2 separate regions of the Homo sapiens genome follow, and region 2 is linked to region 1. Evidence: promoter capture Hi-C in 16 types of primary human blood cells and fetal thymus (Javierre and others, 2016). All regions are on one chromosome and are shown on one strand. The core of a region is centred on a gene start or on the middle of the fragment in contact, and the rest is flanking DNA. Distances in the headings are between cores, read along the strand shown.

Region 1 (5,600 bases), core at 1,795-4,294:
GGGCCTCAGATAGCTGCATTGGAGAGGCAGGCAGGAGCTGAATCACTCAGGGCCCTGCTAATGAATTCAGATCTTGGCTAAGGTCAGTGTAGGGCTGTGGAAAGAGTTTAAGCTGAAACCTGCCATGGACGGTTTGGCACTTTCTAAATCAACCACATTTTTCATAGCATTAGCCAGTGATAATCAATTTTGGATCAGGTCATGATCCGGAGGCCCTGCAGGATGCAGAAGCAAAGCCTAAGAAAGGCTCTGTTGAGGGCCATAGACTTCTACGGCAATGTATATTTATTATAATTCTTTGGGAATTGATATATCCTTTGTGGAAAAGACTCATGTCTTTTTCTATTATCTTTGAAAGTGCTAGAACAATACATGGACACATCAGATTTGCCCAACAAATACCAATTGGTCATAACCGATGCACGTTACATATGATGACTTCTTGCTATTTAAGGTAGTCAATGGCCTATTTGGTGGAAAGTAGAGATGAGGGTGGGGGCCTGGACTGCACTCCAGCCTGAGCAACATAACAAGACTCCCATCTCTAAAAAGAAAAAAAAATAATAAGGTCATGGGAGACCAGAAGCGCAGCTGTCACATATGCATAACAGGTATAACATCTTGCATACCATAGCAAGATGTTAAAGGACAAATGCCACTTAGGTTATGTGTCCATTACACTGACTTCAGTGTAATGGAGGGTTGTTCATTTAAATCACAAAACCTGTTCTGTTCAAACCAGCTGATTTTTTCTGATTTCTGGTAATGCAATGTGAAATTAGCAATAGAATTATATTCCCTTTAATTTGGAGGTGGAAAAAGGAGTGAAAAGGAAATAAGACACACTTTGGTGGGGAGAAAACCAGTGAATCCATGGAGGAATGTGGTCTGGAGGATCTACTAGGGAAATGAACCATCCAAAACAACAGTATCTTGACAGTCATTGAACCTAGGCTCACTTATTCATTCATTCATTCATTCATTCATTCAACAAATATTTATTGAGCCCCTTCTATATCCAAGATGCTACACAATGGTGAACAAAACTGACACCATCTTGTTCTGAACCTCATGAAGATTACTCTGCAGCAGGGAAAATATGCTTTATATAAATGAACACACTAATAAGTACATAATGAGTTGTGATAAGTGCTATGAAGGAAAACAATAGTGTCCTGTGCTATGAAAAAGAAGAAAGGCCTGCCTTAGGCTGGGGTCAAGGAAGATTTTCCTGAGGAACAGTCAAAAAGAAGGAGTAGGAAAAAGCCAGGACAGGACCAATCGGGAGAGGCTGCAGGCAGGGGAGGGCCTCCAGTGGAAAAGAGCTGTGTGAATCTGAGAAACAACAAGTTGGAGGTGTGGATCGGGGAGGCGTGAGGAGGAAGCGGCCACAGGTACAGGGACCAATTCGCACAATAGGAAAAGGTGAGAAATGAAGAGGGCCTTCAGTGGAGATCCACAGCCTCTCTCCAAGTCAACACACTCAGTCAGTCCTGGCAGCTCAGCCCAGAAAACTTTGTCAGCCATGGCTGGGGTAACTGTGTCCAGAGGTGTTTGAACAAGAGCCACTCCATCTTGAATAGGGACTGAGTAAAATAAGGCTGAAACCTACTGGGCTGCCTTCCCAGGTGGTTCAGCATTCTTAGTCACAGGATGAGATAGAAGGTTGGCACAAGGTACAGGTCACAAAGACTTTGCTGATGAAACAGGACTCAGTAAAGAAGCCAGCCAAGACCCACCAAAATCAAGATGGTCATGAAAGTGACCTCTGGTCGTCCTCATTACTCATTAAATGCTAATTTTAATGCATTAGCCTGATAAAAGACCCTCCCACCAGGGCCATGACAGTTTACAAGTGCCATGGCAACGTCAGAAAGTTACCCTATATGGTCTAAAAAGTGAAGGAACCCTCAGTTCCGGGAATTGCCCACCCTTTTCCTGGAAAATTCATGAATAATCCACCCCTTGTTTAGCATAGAATCAAGAAATAACTACCAGTATAATTAGCTAAGCAGCCCACACAGCTGCTCTGCCAGTGGAGTAGCCATTCTTTTTTGTTGTTGTTCTTCTTGTTTTTTGTTTTTTTTTTGTTTTTTTTTTTTTTGAGACAGAGTCTGGCTCTGTCGCCCAAGCTGGAGTGCAGTGGCGCAATCTCGGCTCACTGCAACCTCTGCCTCCGGAGTTCAAGCGATTCTCCTGCCTCAGCCTCCCGAGTAGCTGGGATTACAGGCATAGAGCACCATGCCTGGCTAACTTTTCGTATTTTTAGTAGAGAGAGTGTTTCACCATGTTGGCCAGGCTGGTCTGAACTCCTGAGCTCAAGTGATCTGCCTGCCTTTGCCTCCCAAAGTGTTGGGATTATGGGCGTGAGCCACCGCACCCGGCCTGTTTTCTATACTTCCTTAATAAACTTGCTCTCACTCTACGGACTCACCCCGAATTCTTTCTTGCGAGAAGTCCAAGAACCCTCGCTTGGGGTCTGGATCGGGACCCCTCTCCGGTAACAAGTGATATCGGTATTAAAGGTACCCCCACATGTCAAAGGCTTCCCTCCACAAGTCAGAGTTGGGGAGGGACAGGAGGCAGCAGGGGACCGACAAAGAGCAATGGAAAGAGAAGGCCTGGGAGCCAAGCAGGCCTGGGGTTGACTCCAGGCTCCCTTAGTGGCCTGCACAACTCAGATGACCCGTCTGTGAAGTGCAGGTCACAGTGGGCACCACACACGGCTGCAGAAAGGAGTGCAAAGGTGATGCCCACGCCTGGCCTAGGGCGGGGGCGCAATACATGGCTGTTGCGGCTGTGATTGCTGGAGGAAGGGAGTCATTTGGAAGGCACAAAGGAACTAGAACCTACTCGGTGTCGGGACAAGCCTCAAGGATGGGGCAGGGGTTCCGGCAAGAGCTGGGTTCCAGCCTGGGTTGCCACCAACAGCGAAAGTGACTGCCAGGTGGCAGTAGGGTGACTTCACCAGCTTAAGTGCTTAGCGGGCAGGCGAGGGGGCGGAGCAAGAGAAGAAAACACAAAGGGCCGGAAGGAAGCCGGGGAGACAGGTGGGGTACTCGGGAAGCTGGAGCGGGCCGGCGGTGCAGTCACGGGGGAGCGAGGCCTGCTGGGCTTGGCAACGAGGGACTCGGCCTCGGAGGCGACCCAGACCACACAGGTGAGCCCCCGCCCCGGGGAGTGTTGACGGCGGGAGGGGGTGGCCTCGGGGGAACGCGGCGCCGCAGGGCAGTCCTTCGAAGGCCGCGCGGTGCAGCGGTGGCCGCCCCCCACTCTCCCCTAACTCGGACCCCGGCGGCCCCGGCACGGGCGAGGGGCTGGGGAGCTTGGGGTGGCGCTGGCTGCTTCTGGCCAGGGATGGCAGCGGACTCCAGTAGGCTGACTCCCGGCTTCCCCGACCGCATCAGAAAGTGCAGTGTCCCCCGTCCGCCGTCCAGCCCTGCAGGCGCCCCCCTCCAAGCCATCCTAAGAAGCACCCCCGCCCCCCATGCTGGGGCGCGCCCTCCTCCGCACATTCGTCGGTCAGCACCCACGAACCCACGGGTCCCTTCCCCACCACTGAGGAAACAGAGGGTCCCCGGACCACCCCAGCGTGGGGGGTGGGAGCTACACCTGCAAGGCAAGACCCTCGGAAGGCTTGCTTTTAGGTGCAGACTGAGGACTAAGTGGGTGCCAGGGGACCTGGCCACCGAAGCTGAGAGGTATATTTGCCTCCCAATATAGGGCAGCGGCCTAATGGCTAAGCAAAGATAATCTAATTTGGCGTGGTCAGCAAAGACTTCCTGGGAGTGCTCAGGAAATGGAAGGTGTGCAGGGGCTTTATGGACGTATCCCTCATCCTCATCCTCATCCTAGTCTTCATTCCTGCAAGAGCCCCTCACCATTGTTGTGTCCATTATGCCCAATTAACAGTGGAGAAAGCTGAGGCAGAGACGGATTAAGTCATTTGCACCAAAGGGATCGCAGGGGTAAAGAGTCACGATTTGAACTCTGGTCTCTCTGACCCCAGTACTTTCCCGTGCAGGGCACCGTGCTGCCCCTGTAATCACATTAGACACCTGTGATGAAACTTGGTGCGAGTACGGGTCCCCTTGGCTCAAATGCCTCAAAGTTTAGTAACTGATGTAGGAAACAGAATTGTATATAAGAGGTTCATTTTGCAGAAGAAAAGCAGAGGTAGAGGTAGAGTTCAGGGCTGCAGAATGCAGTGGCCACTGGGGGCAGGAGGAGGCTCAAAGTCCACCTGGATTATGTCCATCATTGCCAAATCCAGGGTCCACTTTTCTAAGCCATGTGATGGTGTTGATGATTCACTCCCTCCTTCAGAAATTCCCTCCCCTCTGTATCAGCTATTCCTTCTCAGTCATTTCCTTGGCCTGCTTTTTTTTTTTTAATCTTTCTTCTCTTTTCGATATTCCCTTGGGCTCAGTGTTCATATTCTCCAGTACTGTTTTTAGACACATTTATTAAAGTTCCCTGCTTTAACTCTCATCTCTATGATGGCAGCTCCCAACTTCATCTCTCTAGCCTACCCCTGTTCTGGAACTCTAGACCCAAATCGTCAAATATTAACAGTGGCTAATTCCACTGTTTGCCCCCACAGGCACCCAAATCCAACATTTCCAAACCCAAATTTAGCATCTCTATCAAAGATGCTAAATTCCCACCAGGGTCTTTGTTCACGTCCCTGTAACTCCTTGTCTGGACTAGTGTACCACCTTCCAACCTGGTCCTCCTGCCCCAGAGTCCATCTACCCTCCACAGATCCTCCTGAAAGCTTAGGAGTCCTAGTTCCTTTGTGACATGACTAGATGGAATGGACCCTGCTTTCTTTTCTTCCTTAGCATCCCATGCATACTTTTCATGTTGTGTAACTGTTGACTTGTCTATCTCCCCTTTTGGACTGTGAATTCCTTCACAGCGGTGATCTTGTCTTATCCTTCTTCATATCCCCTGGCCTGGCACATAATCGACACTCAGTGCACAGTGTGGTATTTCCACTCTATTCTAAATCTGATCTGTCCCCATTAGTGAGTGCATGTATGTGTGCTGGTGGAAGAGGAGCACTGGAAGTTGAGTTTGCAGATGGACTAATGACAAAAGGAAAAACACATTTTCCAAATAACTCCAGTGGATCCTCAGGATGCTTTTAAGCTTGATGCAAACATTTAGTCATGGCATAGTGATTCTCTTCTACCTTCCTTAGACACTGGGTCAAGGAGTAAGCAGAGGATAAACAACTGGAAGGAGAGCAAGCACAAAGTCATCATGGCTTCAGCGTCTGCTCGTGGAAACCAAGATAAAGATGCCCATTTTCCACCACCAAGCAAGCAGGTATACTTTTATATTTATTGATCGATTCATTGATTGAGACACGATCTCACACTGTCACCCAGACTGGAGTGCAGTGGTGCAGTCATGGCTCACTGCAGTCTCGAACTGCTGGATTAAGTGATCCTCCTACTTGAGCTTCTCACTTAACTGGGATGACAGGTGCAGGCCCACATGCCTGGCTAATTTTTTTTGTGGTTAGACATGAGGTCTCACTATATTGCCCAAGCTGGTCTCAAACACCTGGCCTCAATTAATCCTCCTATCTA
Region 2 (6,147 bases), core at 2,846-5,345, 280 kb after region 1:
AAGAAGCACAAACTTGCAGATTCTCCCTGAATATTCTAAGCCAAAAAAGGCAACATAAGCTAAGTTAGAGGATATGGGATCGACATAGCAACATATGGGATCGATATGGACATGACTGGAAAACTTGTATGTAGGAAGCCAAGTAGGCTGCCCAGGCAGTCAGAAGAACAGAGCAGGTGAAGCTGCACAGCATGCAGTGGTGTGTCTTCTTTTGGGGCCAAGCCTGATGCAGCTTACTATTTGCCAGCACCGTGTCATCTCCATCTGAGTAAATGGCACCACTATCCTATGAGTGATTCAAGTAAAAATGCTGTGAGTCATTGTTAATTCCTTCCTGTCACCTCACTGATTAATCCACTAATATATGACAAGTCTCAAATACTTTGCTTTTTTTCCTGTGCTGTTGCCATCCTCTTAGCCCAAGTTGCAATGATCTCACCTGGATTTCTGTAATGGCTTCCCTGGGTCTACATTTTCCCTCTTTCAATCCATTCTCCAGAGGTACCAGAGAGATTTTTATAAAGAGAAAGCCAGATTCTATCCCTCTCCATATTAATGCTTTCCACTGAATTTTAATTGCATTTGGAATGAAATCTAATTTTCTTACAAAGTTCTTAAAGATCTTCTGTGACTTGCTCCCTGACTACTGATTCTGACCTTATCTCATATCCCCTTCCACCTCTGCTTCTTCCCTTGAGCTCCAGCCACACTGGTCTTTCTGTGTTTTAAGCATGCACGTTCAGTCTTGTGTTTTCTGTTCCTGGTGCTTTGTCTTGCTCCCTCATTTTAAAAATCATTTAGGCCTGAGTTTAAGTGTAGCTTCTTCAGTGAGGTCTTCACTGAGCATATTTTCCAAAGTAGTGTTGTTTTTCAGTTCCCCAATCCCGTTCCTGTTTCATTTATTCACACCTGTTTTATTTCCTTTATTGCATTTGACTATCTGATTAGAATCCATTCATTCATTCAGCAAATACTGTGCACCTAATCTATGCTAGGCATTGTTCTAGGTACTTGGGATTTACCATGAACAACAACAACAACAAAAACCAAAAGAGAATCCCTGTTCTTATATTCACATTAGTAGGATAGAGAGAGAAACAGTACATAATATACATGATATGTAATTAAATTATAAATATGTTAGTATGTTAGAAATAGACAAAATGGATTATGGTAGAGGAGATTGGGAGAACTGGTTGAGGGTTAGAGGCAGCTTACAAATTAAATAGGGTAGTTATGGTAGACCTCTTGAGTTGATTTATTAAAGTAGAGTTCTTTTGTTTCTTTTACTTTTAGCTTCAGCGCCAGTCAGCAAAGTAAATAAATACTGTGCTTCTTCCAACTTTCATTCCACTTGGGGAAAAAAAAATATCATCATGTCAAACATTACGATTGACCCAGATGTCAAACCTGGTGAATATGTCATCAAGAGCCTCTTTGCAGAATTTGCTGTTCAAGCTGAAAAGAAAATTGAAGTTGTAATGGCCGAACCCTTGGTGAGTACAGCTGACCTATAAATCTGAAATATTTTCTTGACTTTTGTATTAACCACTATAATGCAGATTTTTCAAAGGAAATAATATACTTGAAAAAAATATTAAGGGATAGTGGTGATGTAGAAAGCTGCACTGACTTTAGAATCCACTTTGATAAGTTGCTGCAGGTCGCAAAAGAACAAAAAGGAACTTCAACAGTGGGAATTGTGGAAACAAATAAAACATAGGAAATAAAGGAAAATTAGGATATAATGTGAGTTAACACTAAGGTCACAGCCAAACTTATAATAAACAAGAGAACATATTTTACATGTATATTGTGTGAGACATACTTGGAGAATGTGAGAAGCTCTATTTGATTAGAGCCCATGATGAGGAGGAGGGAAGAGAAAGACTGAAAACAAACACATGGGTCAGTTTCTAAAGAGTTGTAAATGCTATTGTGATGGATAATATGGTGGTTGAACAATAGAGAGAGAAGACATTGAGAGCGGAGACTATTTAGTTATTGTACATAGTTCAGGCTGGAATGAAAGGGGTCTTGAACTATGGTGTTAGAAGTAGAAATGGTTGCAGAAGAAAGTAAGAGAAATAACAGAAGTAAAATCAATAGAACTTGACAAGTAACTAAGTAGGGGGCATTTTGAATGAAAGTTAAGGGTTAAAGATGCTCTGGAGTGTTAGTAAAGATGATAATATATTTACTTTGGTAAAGTACACAGGAATATCTTTGGGTAGAAAAGGTGGATAAAATAATTTTTCGTTTGCGTACCTTAAGCTTGAGATACTGATGATCTCACCACATGGAATTAGTTGCTTGATTGGTAGTTGGAAATTCTTTTTGAGAACTCAAGAGATGGTAACTAGAAATACAGATTTTGGTATCATCTATATGAGGGTGTAAATTGAAGCCAAAAGAGCAAATGATGATTTCAAGGGAAAGAAAATATAGAATTATTATTGCCAATGACGTAGAGCAGCAAAGTACAATGAACATTGAGAGAAGTGGTTATTGGATTTGGAAATAAGCAGAAATAAAACAGAACAGTTTTACCTTCTTGATATAATTACAGGAAGTAACTTTGACTCTCTGCCAACTTAAATAGGTGACAGTTTAGGTTACTCTTTGGGCTGGAAGGAAGTGGGTATGTGATGTACTAAGAACACAGTGTAGGTTCGATGTGGGATGTTGGGAATGGAGAGGAAGGCGAAGGATGTTGTAACAGCTGAAACTCACTCCTTACACAACTGAATTAGGGATAGCTATTCACCACCAATTTCAGATTCAGAGGGTTTGTGACGGCGCACTGAGGAGTTAGGCACAATAATATATTGGCTTTAGAACCTGTGTGCTTACTCAGCCTGTTATAGTTCCTTAGAAGGATGAGAGAGGAAAACAACAGAAGGGAGGACAGGGCAGGAAGAAAGTTGAAGGAAGTATTGTCAATGCTCTTATTTTCTTAGTGAAGTAGCCTTGAAATTGCTGTGAAGGTGAGTTTCTTCTCAATGATTAAGTAGAGAAAACTACTCTGAGGAAAGCATCTATGAAATAATATGTTCCGGGATCTGATACATAATAATAGCCAAATGTATATTTCAAAACTGTGCAGATGTTTATATTCAGTTTAAATCATCCCATGATTGCTTTCCACATAGCAAATTGATTTTTATACTAATGTATATATATTTTTTGTGTATATTGTATAATGTATATATAGTATATATATAGACAGCATATATATTATTAATATAAAGTTCTGTTTTAGAAGTAAGGATTACAAAAGCCTATAGCATAAGTTCATGATTATAAGATTTGATTATAGATATGCTTAAACTACAAAATGTTAGTTTTCTTTTTCAATGGTCTCTGAATTACATGATAAATTACTACACTAGTCTACTTAAACAGCATACAGTAAGGGAACAACTCTAAACAAATTGAAGAATTTATTATGGAAAATGTCAAACATATATAAAACTAAAGATTATGGTATAATGAACACTTAGGACCCATCACCTGGCCTCAGCCATTTTCAAGTCACACAGCACATTTTAAAAACACTTTATTTTATAAAATGTTTTATAGTAGTATCATGTGATACAGTCCTACCAGTTCTCAATTTTTATATATATATTTATATATTTGAGATTTTGTGTGCGCATATATATATATATATATATATATATATATATATATATTTTTTTTTTTTTTTTTTTTTTTTTTTTTTTTTTTTTGGAGAGACAGGGTCTTGCTGTGTCTCCCAGGCTGGAGTTCAGTGGCGCAATTTTGGCTCACTGCAACCTTCACCTCCCAGGTTCAGGCAATCCTCCCACCCCAATCTCCTGAGTAGCTGAGACTACAGGCATGCGCCACCACACCTGGCTAATTTTTGTGTTTTTGTAGAGATGAGATCTCACCCAAGCTGGTCTCAAACTCCTGGGCTCAAGTGATTCACCTGCCTTGGTCTCCCAAAGTCCTGGGATTATAGACCCACCGCCTCTGGCCATATTATATATTCTCATTCCAAACTTCCCATATATTCCCTCTAACTTAGTCATCCCCCCCTAAGCTAAATGAATATGTATTTTACTGTAATAATTTGTACATACTTCTAGATTATGATGATATCACGTTATAGTTAATTGCTTACATGTTTATCTTCTCCGATGTGAGTTACTCGATACCAGGAACCAGGTCTCTCTCATCTCTGTATCTGTGGCACTGCTTGTGGTGGTGGGTACTCAGTAGAGGGTTTTTGTTAAATATTAGTATTTTAATGAATGTAGCCTTAAGAAGTATTGCTGTGGTGTGTGCCTTTTGTTTTTCTAATAATAATAATAATAATAATGTTTTCATTCTAGCCAGAGCTTCCGATAGTTCTTTCAGAATAGCCTGATGCTATTCATTTATCTTATTAGTTAATTCATTTATTTAATAGTTAATTTTAGAGGCATCTGCTATGTAATCTGAGATTATAAAATTATGATTAATAGTGGTAAGGATTTCATCAGAACGTAGATGTTTCTACTCTGCCATCACAAATAGAAGAGGCATCACTGCTTACTCTTCCTGACACACCAGGAAAACCCCCAAATCACCATCATATTTTACAGATTTTACCCCTTACACTCCTATATACCAAGATAATTTCTTCTTATCTAGAGCAGAGTGCCAGCTTTGTTTTTATTTATGTCCAAGTCTGGGTAAGTTGGGAATCCATAGCTTCAAGATTAGATAATGAAAATACATTTAATCTAATATTGTCACAGTTTTTACAATATAGCTTCAAATGCTTTTATTGGAATTTCATTTATTTTGAAATTTATTCTGTACCCTTTTAGGTAATAATCATCTAAGATGACTCTCTGGGTTCAGAGTCACTTTAAAGAAAATAGCATCCAGGGCTTGTCAGATACAAGGAGGCTGGCCTTGCTCATGGTCAGTCAGGTAGTAGGTTTCAAAAACACAAATGTGAATGGCTTTTGCTGAAAGAATTTAATCTACCACTAAAATGAGAGAATTGGCTTTTTCATTCTTACATTAGAAACCATAATAAAAGAAGATTAAGGAAGCCAAAAGACTCGAAGATTAGCTGAGTTGGATTTTTAGCCACAATTTCATTTTCATTTTAGAAGGAAGATTCAAGAAGGGCAATTGGTGATTGAAATGGCAACTTGCAGGCTATGCAATCCAATACCTTAGGTCCTTTTTTCCTAAAAGGAGATGGATCAATCCTCGGTAATAACCTAGGTATATCCAAGTTTATCTGTTAATCTTTTAGATTGCTGGGGACTAGAAAAGAAGATAGAAGAAAATCCATTTACCTATCTTCTTCTGATTTAGACCTTATGTTTTGATTTAGGCCCAGCATTTTAAAAACTCTAAAATTTTCACTATTTTTTTTGAGAGTATAAATATATGTATGTGTCTTAAAGGGTTTCTTCTCCCTGTATGGTCAGTTTCTTCCAAACTGCATTTTTCTGCTGGTTTTACCTTCTCCTCACATGTTTATTTTAACTTGTTATATTTTAAGAATGAAACACAGTTGATTGGAAGTCCAGTGTACACAGAGGAGCCTTTTTGACTGTGATCTTCTGTGTATTACTGTCAATGGACCATCAGTGTCAGATCTTTTTTGGGGGACTTGTCAGAGTCCCCAAAGAAGGTTCCTACAGTACTCTGAATGGGAGAGTTTAGGCTTTAGCTGCAAGCATTCTGGGGAACTAGACTCAGAAGATAACTGGGGTTTTTGATATTTGGTTTATATATTCTTGCTTAACCTCCCTATCTTCAGTATGGTACCTCTTCAACCATTGTATGCCCCAGTCAGCATCATTGTATTTTGCCCTTTCCTAAGAAAGGCAATGCCTCTGAAGGTAAAGTGAAAGGGAGGGTCTAAATCTTTCTTAAACAAGCTTTTTAAAACAATCTTTCAATCAGCCCTCTTATTTTTATCCTCACCTTTAGCCATACTTTCAGAGTACCCAAGTTCTCCAATTCCTGAGCCTTCTGGGAAGTTCTAAAGCATCAGTTGGGTTATCTTTCCTTTACTCTCTGTGGGTCAAGCTCACTCACTTCCCTCTGGTTGTGCCTCAAGTGTCATCTTCTCTATGATCATGTTATCTGAAATTTCAGTCCCCATTCCAACTT

What was found. The method cuts DNA at HindIII sites, captures the fragments that hold promoters and counts their contacts. A CHiCAGO score of 5 or more calls a contact.
Region 2: a contact is called between a fragment that was not itself captured here and the fragment with the promoter of OCIAD2 in region 1, in 1 of 17 cell types (total CD8 T cells). The highest score is 5.4, in total CD8 T cells.

The regions. Positions count from the first base shown.
Region 1 is chr4:48,904,218-48,909,817 of GRCh38, reverse strand. OCIAD2 (OCIA domain containing 2) reads left to right here and starts at 3,044. Exons shown (of 7, transcript NM_001014446.3): 1 at 3,044-3,160; 2 at 5,207-5,334. The coding sequence starts at 5,269. RefSeq lists an enhancer at 2,737-2,816 and a silencer at 3,107-3,366. The HindIII fragment of the contact is 6,070 bases long and covers 1-4,779 here.
Region 2 is chr4:48,629,640-48,635,786 of GRCh38, reverse strand. FRYL (FRY like transcription coactivator) reads left to right here. Exons shown (of 64, transcript NM_015030.2): 4 at 1,297-1,496. The coding sequence starts at 1,377. Among named protein-coding and RNA genes, the nearest start is that of ZAR1, 140 kb to the right of the region's middle. RefSeq lists an enhancer at 161-455. The HindIII fragment of the contact is 3,638 bases long and covers 2,277-5,914 here.